Linked DNA regions of Homo sapiens: regions 1, 3 and 4 are each linked to region 2. The links are contacts of gene promoters, found by promoter capture Hi-C in blood cells and fetal thymus (Javierre and others, 2016). All regions are on one chromosome and are shown on one strand. Each heading gives the region's core, a stretch centred on a gene start or on the middle of the fragment in contact. The rest is flanking DNA. Distances are from core to core; before and after follow the strand shown. Region 1 holds the start of SMURF2 (SMAD specific E3 ubiquitin protein ligase 2). Region 2 holds the start of POLG2 (DNA polymerase gamma 2, accessory subunit). Region 3 overlaps PECAM1 (platelet and endothelial cell adhesion molecule 1). Region 4 overlaps SMURF2 (SMAD specific E3 ubiquitin protein ligase 2).

What was found. Contacts are between HindIII fragments. The CHiCAGO score rates a contact against its expected background, and 5 or more counts as called.
Region 1: a contact is called between the fragment with the promoter of SMURF2 here and the fragment with the promoter of POLG2 in region 2, in 1 of 17 cell types (megakaryocytes). The highest score is 5.0, in megakaryocytes.
Region 3: a fragment that was not itself captured here is called in contact with the fragment with the promoter of POLG2 in region 2 in 12 of 17 cell types (neutrophils, M0 macrophages, naive CD4 T cells and 9 more); the score reaches 11.4 in neutrophils.
Region 4: a fragment that was not itself captured here is called in contact with the fragment with the promoter of POLG2 in region 2 in 13 of 17 cell types (megakaryocytes, erythroblasts, naive CD4 T cells and 10 more); the score reaches 19.1 in megakaryocytes.

The regions. Positions count from the first base shown.
Region 1 is chr17:64,660,674-64,664,236 of GRCh38, forward strand. It overlaps SMURF2 (SMAD specific E3 ubiquitin protein ligase 2), which reads right to left and starts at 1,634. Exons shown (of 19, transcript NM_022739.4): 1 at 1,156-1,634. The coding sequence starts at 1,207. RefSeq lists silencers at 1,128-1,327, 1,378-1,777 and an enhancer at 1,928-2,486. The HindIII fragment of the contact is 18,568 bases long and covers 1-3,563 here.
Region 2 is chr17:64,495,480-64,498,971 of GRCh38, forward strand. It overlaps POLG2 (DNA polymerase gamma 2, accessory subunit), which reads right to left and starts at 1,575. Exons shown (of 8, transcript NM_007215.4): 1 at 928-1,575. The coding sequence starts at 1,489. DDX5 (DEAD-box helicase 5) reads right to left here. Exons shown (of 13, transcript NM_004396.5): 13 at 2,775-3,492. It also overlaps a transcript of MILR1 not described here. RefSeq lists enhancers at 752-1,611, 1,263-1,332, 1,713-1,852. The HindIII fragment of the contact is 2,967 bases long and covers 1-2,048 here.
Region 3 is chr17:64,322,462-64,326,345 of GRCh38, forward strand. PECAM1 (platelet and endothelial cell adhesion molecule 1) reads right to left here. Exons shown (of 16, transcript NM_000442.5): 16 at 1-1,384. The coding sequence ends at 1,355. Among named protein-coding and RNA genes, the nearest start is that of TEX2, 61 kb to the left of the region's middle. The HindIII fragment of the contact is 6,637 bases long and covers 1-3,884 here.
Region 4 is chr17:64,643,761-64,647,581 of GRCh38, forward strand. All of the region lies in intron 1 of SMURF2 (SMAD specific E3 ubiquitin protein ligase 2), which reads right to left. Among named protein-coding and RNA genes, the nearest start is that of SMURF2, 17 kb to the right of the region's middle. The HindIII fragment of the contact is 3,026 bases long and covers 547-3,572 here.

The DNA of each region.
Region 1 (3,563 bases), core at 384-2,883, 170 kb after region 2:
TAATTACAGTTTATCCGTACACGTGCACGCACACACAAATCCTCTACGGAAAATTATCTTTCTCACCACTCACCCGAATACAAACGTGGACAATTTATCAGGGGTAAATGGTGAAGGTAGGATAACGCCGTGATTCCAATTCCTTTACAAACCAAATAAAAGTTCTCCTAAAACGGGGGTGGCATGTCCATGTAAGAATACCAAAAATGGCACTGTAAGCAAAACGTACCTGTAATGTTAAAGATTTCATGCACCTGGAATCATAAACACTTTGTAAGTGTAGTCTTCTATCTGGCAACCCCTCCGGACATTCTTTTCCATTTCGAAAAAGGAATGGGGAGGGTGGGGAGAGTAACAGAAAGTTTGCTCGAAAGTTTGTATGAGCACATACTTAGCAATGCACCCCCCCCAAAAAAGTGTGTTTTTAAAGCAGGTCTGGCGTTAGAAGTTAGACACAAGTTCTGCGGCCTAAAAGGAACAACCCCAAACATGCCACCCTACAATCAGACACTTCCAAAACACAGTGTACAATGAGCCCAAGCCGTCGGATCAGACAGGCACACCGGAAAAGTCAACCTGTCTCCTCACCTCAGAGACATGAGTTTAAGGTGTGTGGCCCGGGCAGCGGTGGCCGGCGGCGGGGAGTAAAGGTTTTTCATGCGGGCATAACTGGGTGTGTGCAAGGTAACAACCCGGGAACACACACGCACACCCTCCCGTTAAGCGCTCCATCTTTAAGGAGTGTTTACTGCGCGCAGTCAGCAACCGGATTCAATAATCCTCGCCACGGGAGCTCTTCATCCCCTTCACGATCTCACCTGGGCGGTAGCCCAGGGGCTGTTCCCCGAGCCCCGGGAGGCAGCGTCTGGCTCCTTGACCAAGACTTTCCGACCTGAAATCCGCCTGCGATGCGAACCGGTGTATTCTCCCCTCCACAAAACACCACCCCCCGCCCCGAGTCATCCTCGGCTTTTTAAACAATGTCCAAACCAGAGCAAGTGGTTTTCCAATTACTCTCCCTGAACTAGGCCTTCCCATTCCTCCGACCCCCAACTCATCATTGATCGCGACCCTGGCCCTTCCCAAGGCCACAGGCACCCCCCGCCAGCTCGCCCACCCCGCGGCTGCCCAGCCCGGCCCGCCGCCCCCCCTCACCTGTCAGGCGCAGCTTGACGGGCCCGTTCCTCCGGCCTCCGGGGTTAGACATGTCCCCGGCGGCGGGGGCGGCGGGGGCGGCGGGCGGCACGGGGGCGACGGCGAGGCGCGGCGGAGTCACCACAGCGGCCGGGGCTGGGGCCCGAGCAGCCGGCGCCTCGGCCGCCACGGCCGGAGGGTCCCGGATGTGCCGAGAGTCGTCGCCATGAGCCGCGGAGGGAGCGGGACGCCGAGCTCCCCCCTCCTCCCACTTCTCCTTCCTCGGCCCGGGCCGCACAACAAAGCGGCAGCCGCGGCCGCCCGCGCCGCCTCCGCCCGCGCCCCCGCCGCCTCCTCGCGGCCGCCGAGGCCTTTCCCTCCTCTCGTCTCGGCGAGGCCCAGTAGCCGACGGGGCTGGTCGGCTGAAGCGGGCGGTGCTCGGGGGCGCCGGAGCAGAACTCTGGGCTCGGCCGCTTCCTCCTCCACCCGCCCTCTTGTCTGAGGGACCCGGGACCTGGGGCCGCCGCCGCCACTCGTCGGCTCCGGGGGGCGGGGAGGAGACGGGAGGCGGGGCCGGCGGGGCGGGGCGGGGCCGGGGCGGGGCCGGCGGGCGCGCGCAGGGTGCCCTGGCGGGCACCGGCAGTCAGGGAGGGTGTGAGCTGCCGCCGAGGGTCCCACGCGGAACGCTGGGAGGGAGCAGGCAGGGAGCAAAGCGGCGGCGGGCGCGGCAGCTCTGTGGCACCTGGAGGGGTTTACTGTCCGGGCCACTTAAGGGAGAACTTTTGTCCAAGCAGGGCCAACTGCATTTTATTAGACGCCCACTGCGTGCAGGGCGCTCCGAGAGGCTGGGGCGAGGAAGGTTAGAACCGAGTCCGCTGCCTGCCGGGAACTTGGCGTCTTTCGGGCGAGGGAAGAGAAAGCATTCCCACGCCGATGGTTCCAGCAAAACCCCAGGAATGCTCTGCTCCTGGTCTTGTAGTTGACACCTCCATCCGGGACTCACCTGGTGGAGGAGATCAGGTTACCTGCCGACTCCCGCTCTTTTCAGGTGCAGCCAAGGATGGGGAGATGATACGTCTTAAAGGATTAACAAGATAAACCTTGGAGAGTAATGTATGAAGAGTTGTTCATACGCTACTGTATTTCGTTATCTCAGGAGGAGAAAGAGAAAAGTTTTTAAAAAATGTGTACCTTATCCTTTGACATTGTAACTGTACTGCTAGAAATTTATTTTTTATTTTTTTGTTTTTAGACAGGGTCTCCCTCTGTCGCCCAGGCTGGAGTGCAGTGGTGCGAACACGGCTCACTGCAGTCTCAACTTCCGGGGCTCAGGTGATCCTCCCACCTGAGCCTCTGGAGTAGCTGAGACCACAGTGTGCACCACTACGCCCCACTAATTTTTGTATTTTTAGTAGAGACATGTTTAGTAGAGACGTTTAGGTTTTCCCATGTTGCCCAGGCTGGTCACGAACTCCTGACCTCAAGCGATCAGCCCGCCTCGGCCTCCCAAAGTGCTGGGATTACAGACCTGAGCCACCGCACCGGCCCTATTCTTGACAAATAATCGTACAGAAGATGTTCTTTGCTATATTCCATTAATAACAAAAGGGGAATGAGGGAATAGCATAATAGTCCAGGAACCGCATGGTTTTTTATGCAGCCATGTAACTATTTTTATGAAGATCATATAATATGGAAGAATGTATATGTAATGCAAAGTTTAAAAACAGAATAGAAGTTGTATGCATATACATGCGAAAGTATCTAGCACAATGTAAACTACTAAGGACAATAGCGTGGGGGATTTTTTATGTGATTCGTTAGTTTTGCTTTAGGCTATTATAACATTAATGCAATTTTAAATGTTTTGGATTAATATATTTTAATCCTTATTCCATGCCAGTCATTTCTTTTAATACATCAGTGAACTCACTTCTCCAGATAGTTACCTGCGAGAACATTTCATCAGTTTGGATACAGCCCTACAATTAAAAGTAATCCAAAAAAGTATATGAAGTTCTAGACATCACACTAAAAATACCACAGATAGGCCGGGCACAGTGGCTCACGCCTGTAATTCCAACACTTTGGGAGGCCGAGGTGGGCGGATCATTTGAGGTCAGGAGTTTGAGACCAGCCTGGCCAACATGGTGAAACCCCGTCTGTACTAAAAAAAAATACAAAAAAATTAGCCGGGCCTGGTGGCGCATGCCTGTGGTCCCAGCAATTAGGGAGGCTGAGGCAAGAGAATCGCTTGAACACGGGAGGTTGCAGTGAGCCGAGATCACGCCACTGCACTTCAGCCTGGGTGACAGAGCGAGACTCCATATCAAAAATAAATACATAAATAAATAAAAATTAAAATACCAGAGATAGTGCCAGCAATTCATTCAACAAATATTAAGTGGCCATTTTGTGCAAAGCAATGA
Region 2 (3,492 bases), core at 325-2,824:
GAGGTGGGAGGTTCACTTGAGCCCGAGGTCGAGGCTGCAGTGAGCCATGATCACACCACTGCACTCGAGTCTGGGTGACAGAGTGAGACCCATATTCAATTTTAATTTACCAATTCATATTTAATTTACCAATCCATATTTAACATTAGTTTATACGTACCTTCTTTTACATATTATCTCTTCTTTTACAATGAATATCTTGGTTCCTAATAACAACTAACCCAACTATTTGAATTTTTTTTTTTTAAGACGGAGTTTTGCTCTTGTCACCCAAGCTGGAGTGCAGTGGCGTGATCTCGGCTCACTGCAACCTCTGCCTCCTGGGTTCAAGCGATTCTCCTGCCTCAGCCTCCCAAGTAGCTGGGATTACAGGCGCTCGCCGTCACGGCCGGCTAATTTTTGTCTTTTTAGTAGAGACGGGGTTTCACCATGTTGGCCAGGCTAGTCTCGAACTCCTGACCTCAGGTGATCCACCCGCCTCTGCCTTGCAAAATGCTGGGATTACAGGCGTGAGCCACTGCGCCTGGCCTTGATTTATCCTATGATATACATGAAATAGTTTCAGAATTATAATTTCAACATTTTTACTTAGAATAAATCTAAGAAAAGTTCAAAATGTCTGTGTAGTTCCTTATGCACTTAGACTACATTGCACTAAATGACAGCACTGTGTTCAGAAGTTGCCCCGTGAAATTGAGAGCGTTCCCAGGTCCTTCGGACAGATTGTTTAAGGAACAGCAATGATTCCATGGACCAGTTTTCTCCAGGGTAGAGCACTGTTAATATATCCGACTACTTCAAAAAGATGAGAACTAACTAACTTCCTTGCATGGGAATACAGGGCCAGTTGCAATCCCCAAGATCCAGCAAGACTGCCTCGCCTTTCCACCCGACACCTGTTTTGAAGCATGAAATCGTGAAGCATACCGTGAAGAAGGTTCTCCCGTAGTTTCCCAGAAGTTTTTAATACGTTCTCAAGAAATGCTACTAGCTGTTCCTTACTCAGCTCTTTGTCTTGCAAGATTTCGCGTAGAGTTTCTGCAGAAACTAACCTGAAGGCACTGTCCCCGGGTAGCAAAGGGCCTGGTTTGTGGTGGAGGGCGTCCACCGGGAATACCTGCTCCCTGAACACCACCACCGAGGTCCACCATTCTGCGGCCAGGTTCTTCCGCAACTCTACGCCCAAGGGTCCGAAGCCGGGGTGGCACCCACTCAGAAGAGAATCCCGGCTAAGCTGCTGCTTGCTTCCACTTAGGAAATGCCTTCTCTGACAGATCTCTAACAGCGCCTCGCTTCCCTCTCCAGACCCGGGGGCTTCTGGGTGCTCGCCGTTCCCCTCGAGCTCCGCGTGCGACTTCACATGCCCTCCTTTGGGGCTACTCCTTTCCGTCAACAGCTCCGGCTGCCCCGCATCTACTCGACCCCCAAACCCAGACAACAGGCACCTGCAGACCTTATGGCAGGCCCTGACGGCTACACGAGAGCGCATCTCTCTCCGAAGTTAAAGAGCACACTCTCCCATCACTCAACGGATCCCAACAAGCCACCACTACCGTTAACAGAATCCGGAGAGGCCACGGCGCAGGCGCAACGGAGGTGAGCGTGCTTGCGGGCGGCAGGCCCCACCCCGGAAGCGCATGTCTGCGTTCCGGCCGCAGCCGTCCCCCGCCCACCATGGCGGACGCCGGCTCGGATGGTTCTCTGCTAGCTTGCCGTTCGCGTCGCGCCCCTCCCTTCAGATTGACTTTTTTCTTTCCTCGTAAGCACCAGTAAAGGTTATTCCCACCTATTTATAACCGTGGTGTAGCCACTTGAGTCACTTCCTTCTGCCACTGTTTTGCAGTCCAGAAAATTAAAATACTTCAGTATTATCCAAATCACCTTCTATATACACCTCAATCAAGCACTTGGACTAAATTTGGCATTTGGTTTCCCTTTAAACAGTTTTAGTCCTTTACGGTGATTTGTAAGCCCAGGCCTTCTTAACTAGGCAAATGCTGCCGCCAGGTGGCCTAGGCCTAACCCCAGAGCCGTTGTCTTGACGCTTAAGCTTCCGGGGAGGGGGGCGATAGGCTTCGTGACTAGGGTAGTGGTATGGTCACTTTAAATATTGCAGTGGCTTCCAAAGGGCAGTCCCCAGCCAGCAGCATCTGCCTCACCTGGGAATGCACTAGAAATAAACCAAGGGGCCCTGACATGTCTTAAACCCTCCTGGTGTCAGAGAAAACCACGTACGTGCAATTTCTTCCAGGGGCCCCTTCTATGGGTTCATCAAAACAATGAGACTTGTGACTGTTATTATTAAGAGACTCATGATTAAATTGCAGGTTTCTGATTTTGCAGTTTCTATTTAAATAGGTCGAGACCTTAAGACCTACCCAGAAAGTGGAAAAGTGGTATACCCAGACTGAGGAAGTTTGATTCCAAAGTCCATGATTTCTTATACCAGCCTCAGTTACGAAAACCTTTAAAGAGGTTCAGGGAAAAAGGAACAATCTACATTTCACTGTGAGACTACCAAACTACTACCTGATTAAGAGGGGTAACAGCTTAGCAATTGAGTTAATGTAATTCAGGAGTAAAGTTTTATCATTAGTAAAGTGCTGTACCAGGTTCAGGAAATAGTTCTTCTTTACAAGTGTATACAAGGGTTTAAAAAAAGGCCAGCTAGATAGTAATTAACTGCAAAGCTGGGTACTACTGCCAGGTGTTTTCCACATTCAGGAACTCACACCAGGTAAAAGGCCTATACGCAAATAAATAAAAAGAGAGAATGGGGAGAAAAATCACATTTATTAGTTAAGACGACCACAGGCTGGACACAACACACATGCTAAAAAGTGGACTGTCTTTTAAAACTTCCAAGGTAAATAGGTAAATGTTTTCCACAGCCCAACAATCATTTCAGTGTTTACAAATTAAAAGGCCCACGGTTAAGACATTAAACAGTAAAATATGTAATAAATGCTCCAACCTACCCTCTCCCCCGAAAGCTGCTTCTAAGTTTAAAACCATGAATTTGACTAACCATGCCATTGAAAACCATCCAGGTTACTACAGGCTGAATTAGTTTTCAATGTCTAAGTCCTAGAAATATCACTCCCTATCCCAGCCCTAGCAAATTCTAACTTTACATTTGACATAAGGCATTAACATCAATTAAAGCCTCAGTTTAATAATCAGAATTTAAATGAAGTCTCCTGAAGACCTCTCTTCTGGCAAAAAAAAACACGTATCAGACTCTGGGAAAACATTCAGACCCACTTCTAGCTATTACTGAAATAAATGATTAGAAAGTTACGTTGGTGAGCCGAAGTTAAACCTAAAGCTATCCCCTGGATCTTTCTAGCAATAAACCCATGTTGAACCTACCATGAAAACTTTCATTCACTGTGCTTTTGGTTACGTTGCCTCCTGATTAGTCATTAATTTTAATGAGGTTTTTTCCTTGTGTTGAGTATGAATAGACCTTACAGTTTGAGGATCTCTAGA
Region 3 (3,884 bases), core at 369-2,868, 170 kb before region 2:
TAGATGCATGTGGCCCCTCAGAAGACAACATTTCACAGATCTGCAAAGAGCAAAGGTCAAATTTATTTAATACAACATCCACGAGGGTCCCTGCAGCTGTGTCACTGAGGCAAACAGGAAAAGTGATTTTGGCTAGGCGTGGTTCTCATCTGTGAAATTCCACAGCGCAATGACAGCAGCCTCTCTCCCACCCACTCAAGACACTGTCAGGAATGTCTTAAGACCTCAGGAGACCACTTCTTTAGCAAGCAATTTTGTTTTTTGTTTTTTTTGAGATGGATTCTCACTCTGTCACTCAGGCTGGAGTGCAGTGGCGCGATCTCCGCTCACTACAACCTCCGTTTCCTGGGTTCAAGCGATAATCTCACCTCAGCCTCTTGAGTAGCTGATACTACAGGCATGCGCCACCACGCCCGGCTAATTCTTGTATTTTTAGTAGAGACAGGGTTTCATCAGGCTGGTCTCAAACTCCTGACCTCAGGTGATCCGCCCACCTCAGCCTCCTGAAGTGCTGGGATTACAGGCGTGAGCCACCTTGCCTGCCCTGGCAAGGAATACATTTTTAAAAATTAGTAAGAAACATACACATTTCAAGTTTTCAATTAAGAATAATATTTGCTGATGGCACCATCTTCCTGTCTTTCAGCCTTCAGCATGGTAGAGGAAAAGAGAAAGAGTGTAGACAAAAACAGTTGAAGAACATCTGTGCTTGTTCCACCTTCATTTTCTGTTTTGTGCGTTGCCTGAATGAACGGTGTCTTCAGGTTGGTATTTCACAGGCGGTGCTCCCAAGTAGTCTGGTTTTCCCATTTGTGGAGGGCGAGGTCATAGAGGGGACAGGGGGAGGCTGTCTGGTCAGCACTGTGTATTTCCAAAGAACAAGGACTAGCCAAAACTACAAGCCTTTGAAGGACCAAAGGAAAAGAGAAAAAACCAGCCTCTAACCAGGCCATGCGCTAGAAATGATTGAGTATAAAAAAGAAAATTGGTTTCTGTGTATGAGGGTGCATGGAAAAGGTCTTTATCTCTGCACAAAACAAAATATTCAAGTTTCAGAATATCCCAATGGCCTTGCCCTGGATCTCCTCTTGTGCTCTTCCAATTTCCAAGGATGTTCCAACTTGGTGGAAGGAGGGTATGTGGGAAATTCAACAGCCCCTCTGTATCTCTTTCTACCCAACATTAACTTAGCAGGATGGATTTAAGAACCGGCAGCTTAGCCTGAGGAATTGCTGTGTTCTGTGGGAGCAGGGCAGGTTCATAAATAAGTGCACAGAGGTCTTGAAATACAGGGATTATCTGTTCTTCTCGGAACATGGATGTCCTTCCAGGGATGTGCATCTGGCCTTGCTGTCTAAGTTCCATCAAGGGAGCCTTCCGTTCTCTGTAGCGACAAGAAACAAGGCAAGTTATGATCACACCTCTCAAGATTGAAGATTGCCCTGGTGGAGAGAAATGCAAAATGACAGCACTTCTCAAAGAAAATGCAAAGCAGGGCTGTCACACACTGGTCCCCCACCCTGCAGGGTTCTCTCTGTGACTTCAGAGGCCCAAGGAGTCCTCAGCACTACAGATACACGTGGCCCCTCAGAAGACAACATTTCACAGATCTGCAAAGAATAAAGGTCAAATTTACTTAATACAACACCCACCAGGGTTCCTGCAGCTGTGTCACTGAGGCAAACAGGGAAAGTAATTTTGGTTAGGTGTGGTTCTCACCTCTGAAATTCCACAGCACAATGACTGCAGCCTCTCTCCCACCCACTCAAGACATTGTCAGGAACGTCTTAAGACCTCAGGAGACCACTTCTTTAGCAAGCAATTTTTTTTAGATGGATTCTCACTCTGTCACTCAGGCTGGAGTGCAGTGGCGCGGTCTCTGCTCACTACACCCTCCCTCTCCTGGCTCCTGCCCGTATGTATTTCTCCTTCTCTCCATGCCTGCTCTGTAGGGACCATAGCCTCTGTCCCTGCATACATGTTGGACATCAATCACATCAGTCCACCAAGTAACTTCATCAAGCACCCATGTACGCCCAGCACAGCGTCCCAAGGGTGCCCCACTTACCCACAGAAGAAGAAAGGCAACTTTGTAAGAGATCTGACTTCTAGCTCCAGTTCTGTCTCTAGCTAACGTGAGATGTACCCGTTTGAGGCCTGTTTTTTAATTTTGAAAATGAAGGACTGAACTTAGATGGTCCAACTGAAATGTTTTAAAATGATATGATTCTACCTTAAAAAGAGAATGAAATTCTGATATATTTTCAACACAGGAAAACCTTGAAAACGTTATGCTAAATGAAATAAGGCAGACATGAAAGGACAAATATATGATTCCACTTATGTGATGTACCTCAAATAGTCAAATTCATAGAGACAGAAAGTAGACAGTGGTTGCTAGGGGTTGCTGGAGGGGCAATGGGGAGTTAGTGTTTAATGGGTACAGTGTTTCAGTGGCTGCTCTGCCTATGGAGTAGCCATTCTTTTGTTTCTTTACTTCTCTAATAAACTTGCTTTCACTTAAAAAGAAAAAGCTCTGGAGATGGATAGTGGTGGTGGTTGCACAGCAATGTGAACGGACCTAATGCAACTGAATTATACACTTTAAAATGGTTAAGTATACACTGGAAAATGGTGAATTTGCCGGGCGGGCGCAGTGGCTCACGCCTGTAATCCCAACACTTTGGGAGGCCGAGGCGGGTGGATCATGAGGTCAGGAGTTCAAGACCAGCCTGGCCAACATAGTGAAACCTTGTCTCTACTGAAAAATACAAAAATTAGCCGGGCGTGGTGGCGTGTGCCTGTAGTCCCAGCCACTCGGGAGGCTGAGGCAGGAGAATGGCGTGAACCCGGGAGGCGGAGCTTGCAGTGAGCCAAGATTGCGCCACTGCACTCCAACCTGGGCGACAGAGCAAGACTCCGTCTCAAAAAAAAAGAAAATGGTAAATTTAATATTATGTATATTTTATGACAATTAAAAAAAAGGATTCCTGGCTGGGCATGGTAGCTCATCCCTGTAATCCCAGCACTTTGGGAGGCCAAGGTGGGTGGATCCCCTGAGTTTAGGAGTTCCAGAACAGCCTGGGCAACATGGCGAAGCCCCATCTCTATCAAAAATGCAAAGAATTAGGCATACATGGTGGTGTGCACCTGTAGTCCCAGCTACTCAGGAGGCTGAGGTGGGAGGATCACTTGAGTCTGGGAGATGGAGGTTGCAGTGAGCTGAAATAGCACCCCTGCACTCCAGCCTGGGTGATAGAGTGAGACTTCATCTCAAAAAACACACAAACAAACAAAAAAAGCAAAAAAACACCCACAAAAGGATTCCTGGATTCCTTCTGCCATCCTGTAGTGCTCTTTAACAGCTTCAAATGGTATTTGTGTCACCTATCCACCTATCAGTGCCTGGACCCTTATCTGACCCACACTGTTCTCTATGCTGGGGATGCAAGAAGCTGTCCCCAAGAATTTTATATTGTATCAATTATTGATAAACAACACCACTATGAAGTAGAAGGTATAAGAGGTCTCAACAAACTGCAGAAGGGGTTCAGAGGCACTGAGAGGGCTCTGGGCTGGGCAGTGGGGGATTCACAGAAGCAACTCTGGAGTCAGCCTAAAGATTGGATTTTGACAAATGGAAGGAGCCCTTGGAGGGAAAAAGAGCAGGGCCTGCTGGGAGATACCAGAGTAGAGGGGGGCCCTGGGCAACAGTGGGCCCTGAAGAGCAGGCAGCACCTAAGTCCACTATTCTGGACCCTCCATGTGCACAGGACACTCTGCTGCAGGTGGAACTCAGCAAGGCAGAAGCTGGAGATGGAGGATGACCCAGGGTCTTGGGACCTCCACAGCCAGCCTGGCTGGCTTCCTGAGGGTGAGCTGGG
Region 4 (3,821 bases), core at 810-3,309, 150 kb after region 2:
ACACCTAACTCAGTCTGGGGAAGCCTGGGAAGAATTCTCAGAGGAGATGATGCTTCAGCTACGTTTTTTGTTTGTTTGTTTTTTGAGACTGAGTCTCAATCTGTGGCCCAGGCTGGAGTGCAGTGGTGTGATCTCGGCTCACTGCAGCCTCTGCCTCCTGGGTTCAGGCGATTCTCCTGCCTCAGCCTCCTAAGTAGCTGGATTATAGGTGCGCGCCACCAAGCCTGGCTAATTTTTATATTTTTAGTGGAGATGGGGTTTCACCATATCGCCCAGGCTGGTCTCAAACTCCTGGAGTGCAGTGGCACAATCTTGGCTCACTGCAACCTCTGCCTGCTGGGCTCAAACCATCCTCCCACCTCAGCCTCCCAAGTAGTTGGGACTACAGGTACGCACCACACACCAGGCTAATTTTTGCAGTTTTTGTAGAGACGGAGTTTCACCATGTTGCTCAGGCAATCCACCTGCCTCAGCCTTCAAAGCGCTGGGATTTCAGGCATAAGCCACCGCGCCCAGCCTCAGCTATGTCTTAAAACTGGAGCACCAAGCTTGGTGGCTCATGCCTGTACTCCCAACAATTTAGGAGGTTAAGGCAGGAAGATCTAATTGAGCTCAGGAGTTTGAGACCAGCCTTGGCAACACATCAGAACCTCATCTCTACTAAAAATAGAAAAAAAAAAAAAAAATTAGCCAAGTATGGTGGCACATACCTATAGTCCCAACTACTCAGGAGGCTGAGGCAGGAGGAATGCTTGAGCCTGGGTGGTCCAGGCTGCAGTAAGCCATGATCAAACCACTGCACTCCAGCCTAGGTGACAAGAGCAAGACTCTGTCTCAAAAAAAAAAAGAAAAAAAAAAAAATGCTGAGTAGCCAGGCATGGTGGCTCACGCCTGTAATCACAGCACTTTGGGAGGCTGAGACGGGCGGATCACCTAAGATCAGGAGTTTGAGACCAGCCTGGCCAACATGGCGAAACTCCAACTCTACCAAAAAGACAAAAATTAGCTGGGCATGGTGGCGTGCCTGTGATCCCAGCTACTTGGGAAGCTGTCTCATGGTGAAACCCTGTCTCTACTAAAAATATACATATACACAAAAATTAGCCAGGCATGGTGGCAGGCGCCTGTAATTCCAGCTACTCAAGAGGCTGAGGCAGGAGCCGCTTCAACCCAGAAGGCAGAGGTTGCAGTGAGCCGAGATCACACCACTGCACTTCAGCCTGGATAACAAGAGCAAGACTGTCTCAAAAAAAAAAAACAAAACAAAGTGCTGAGTAGATTCGACAGGAAGACTAGGTGGGGAAGGAGGAAGATGGGTAACAGCATCATCTAAGGCAACAGCACTGTCAAAAACTTGGAGATACAAGAGATTATGAAATTTAAGAAAAGACAAGGAGTTCAGAGTGGTAGAACACAGTGGTATGATGGGAAGGCTAGGGCCAAATGATAAAGAGTTTTGAGATGCTGATATATTTAATAAATCTGTTTTCTATAATAAATAAATTTGAAGAAAAAGAAAATTCAGAGGAAGAAAAGAGAAAGCTATAGTTTAAACGATAATTAAGAGACATACCAACCCAATACAATGTGTAGACCTCTTCCGGATTCTGATTAAACAAACCACTTACTCAAAAAGGGAGAGGGGTATCAGGTACAGTGGTGTACAGCTGTAGTCCCAGCTTCTCTGGAGGTTGAGGCAGGAGGATAGGTTGAGCCCATGAGTTTAAGGCTGCAGTGTGTTATGTTCACACCTGTGAACACTAGTACACATCAGCCTGGGCAACACAGTGAGAACTTGTCCCTAAAAAAATAATTAAGAAAAATAGAAAAGTGGGGAGGAAGACAAGGAAGAGAATAATTGGACATGCATGTCTCCTTTTTGTTTGTTTTTAAATTCAAGACAGGGTATCGCTATGTTGCCAGGCTGGTCTCAAACGCCTAGGCTTAACAACCCTCCTGCCTCAGCCTTATGAGTAGCTGGGATTACAGACATATGCCACCACACCCAGGTGGACATGCATCTCTTAATGAGATGGATGGGGTTTTCTTACTTTCAATTACTTCATGTGTCTATTAATGACTATTACTTATTGCTGGAATGAGGGTACAACATAAATTCTAATCCCATTTTTCATTTTATACATATAAATGCTAAGAAAACCTATTCACATAAATAAGTAGGTAATGAAAGAAGTTTTGTTACAGCAATGCCATTAAATTCTTTGAGTTAGATGCCAAAAAAAATTACCAAGATCTATAATTTTAAAAAACTTTCTGGGAAATGGCATTTGACTTCACTATTTCTTATAATTTTTTTTTTTTTTGAGATGGAGTCCCGCTCTGTTGCCTAGGCTGGAGTGCAGTGGTGCCATCTCAGCTCACTGCAACCTCCATCTCCAGGTTCAAGCAATTCTCATGTCTCAGCCTCCCGAGTAGCTGGGATTATAGGCGCACACCACCATGCCCAACTAATTTTTGTATTTTTGGTAGAGACAGAGTTTCACCACATTGGCCAGGCTGGTATTGAACTCCTGACCTCAAGTGATCTGCCCGCCTCAGCCTCCCAAAGTGCTGGGATTATAGGCATGAGCCACTGGAATTTTTCTTTTTTTTTTTCTTTCTTTTTTTTTTTTTTTAAATTGAGACAAGGTCTGGCTCTATCGCCCAGGCTGGAGTGCAGTGGCACCATCTCGGCTCACTGCAACCTCTGCCTGCTGGGCTCGAGCCATCCTCCCACCTCAGCCTCCCAAGTAGTTGGGACTAGAGGTATGCACCACACACCAGGCTAATTTTTGTAGTTTTTGTAGAGATGGAGTTTCACCATGTTGCCCAGGCTGGTCTCGAATTCATGAGCTCAAGCGATCCATCCCTTCAGCCTCCCAAAGTGCTGGGATTACAGGCATGAGCCACCACTCCTGGCCCTATAAAAATTATTTTTAATGACCAGCTAAAACTTGATCAAGTCCTTCAATTTTGTTGAAAACTACAGAGAGAAATATGCCTGACTTATGAAAAGATGCTACCCAGTCATTGATATCACTGCCTTCTCACCAACATTCTGATTTGTCTCTCTGGTGGTGTGGAAGGCCTCTCACCACAATGTACTATTTGGGATGTCTGGCTAATGTGCCTTTCTTTGTAAAGTGGAAGGTAGAAAATATGAAAGATCAATCGTAGAATCTAGAAAGCCCCCTTAGAAATACCTATGGGCTTTCATTATTTTATTTCACCCTTACTGCATACACCATTAACTCTAGCACTGACTGTGGTTATTTCATCCATCAAGTCTTATCTGTTTGGTTACCTGCAAGTTCCCTGAAAGCAAGATAAAGGTCTTAACCTCTTCTTAAAATCCTAGAGCCTACATCTCAGTGTTAGGTGCATGTAAGACTCCCAGCAAATGTTTACTGAATGAATATGTAAATATGAGCATATTTCATCATTATTCTTAGTCTTCTTCCTTGCTAGAAAAAATACAATTAGGGGTTAACTAAGCTGGAAATCAGAAGAAACTGAAAAAAAAAGAAAAAAAAATCAGAAGAAACTGGGAAAGAGAAAACTAAAATATATGAAGCTTCAAATTTTATCACAATGAACTTTTGGTACATCTATCCTCATTTCTAAAGAACTGGAATAGAGGCCGGGTACGGTGGTTCACACCCGTAATCCCAGCACTCTGGGAGGCTGAAGCGGGCGGACCTGAGGTCAGGAGCTTGAGACCAGCCTGGCCAACATGGTGAAACCCTGTCTCTACTAAAAATACAACAATTAGCCAAGCATGGTGGTGGCAGGCACCTGTAATCCCAGTTACTCCGGAGGCT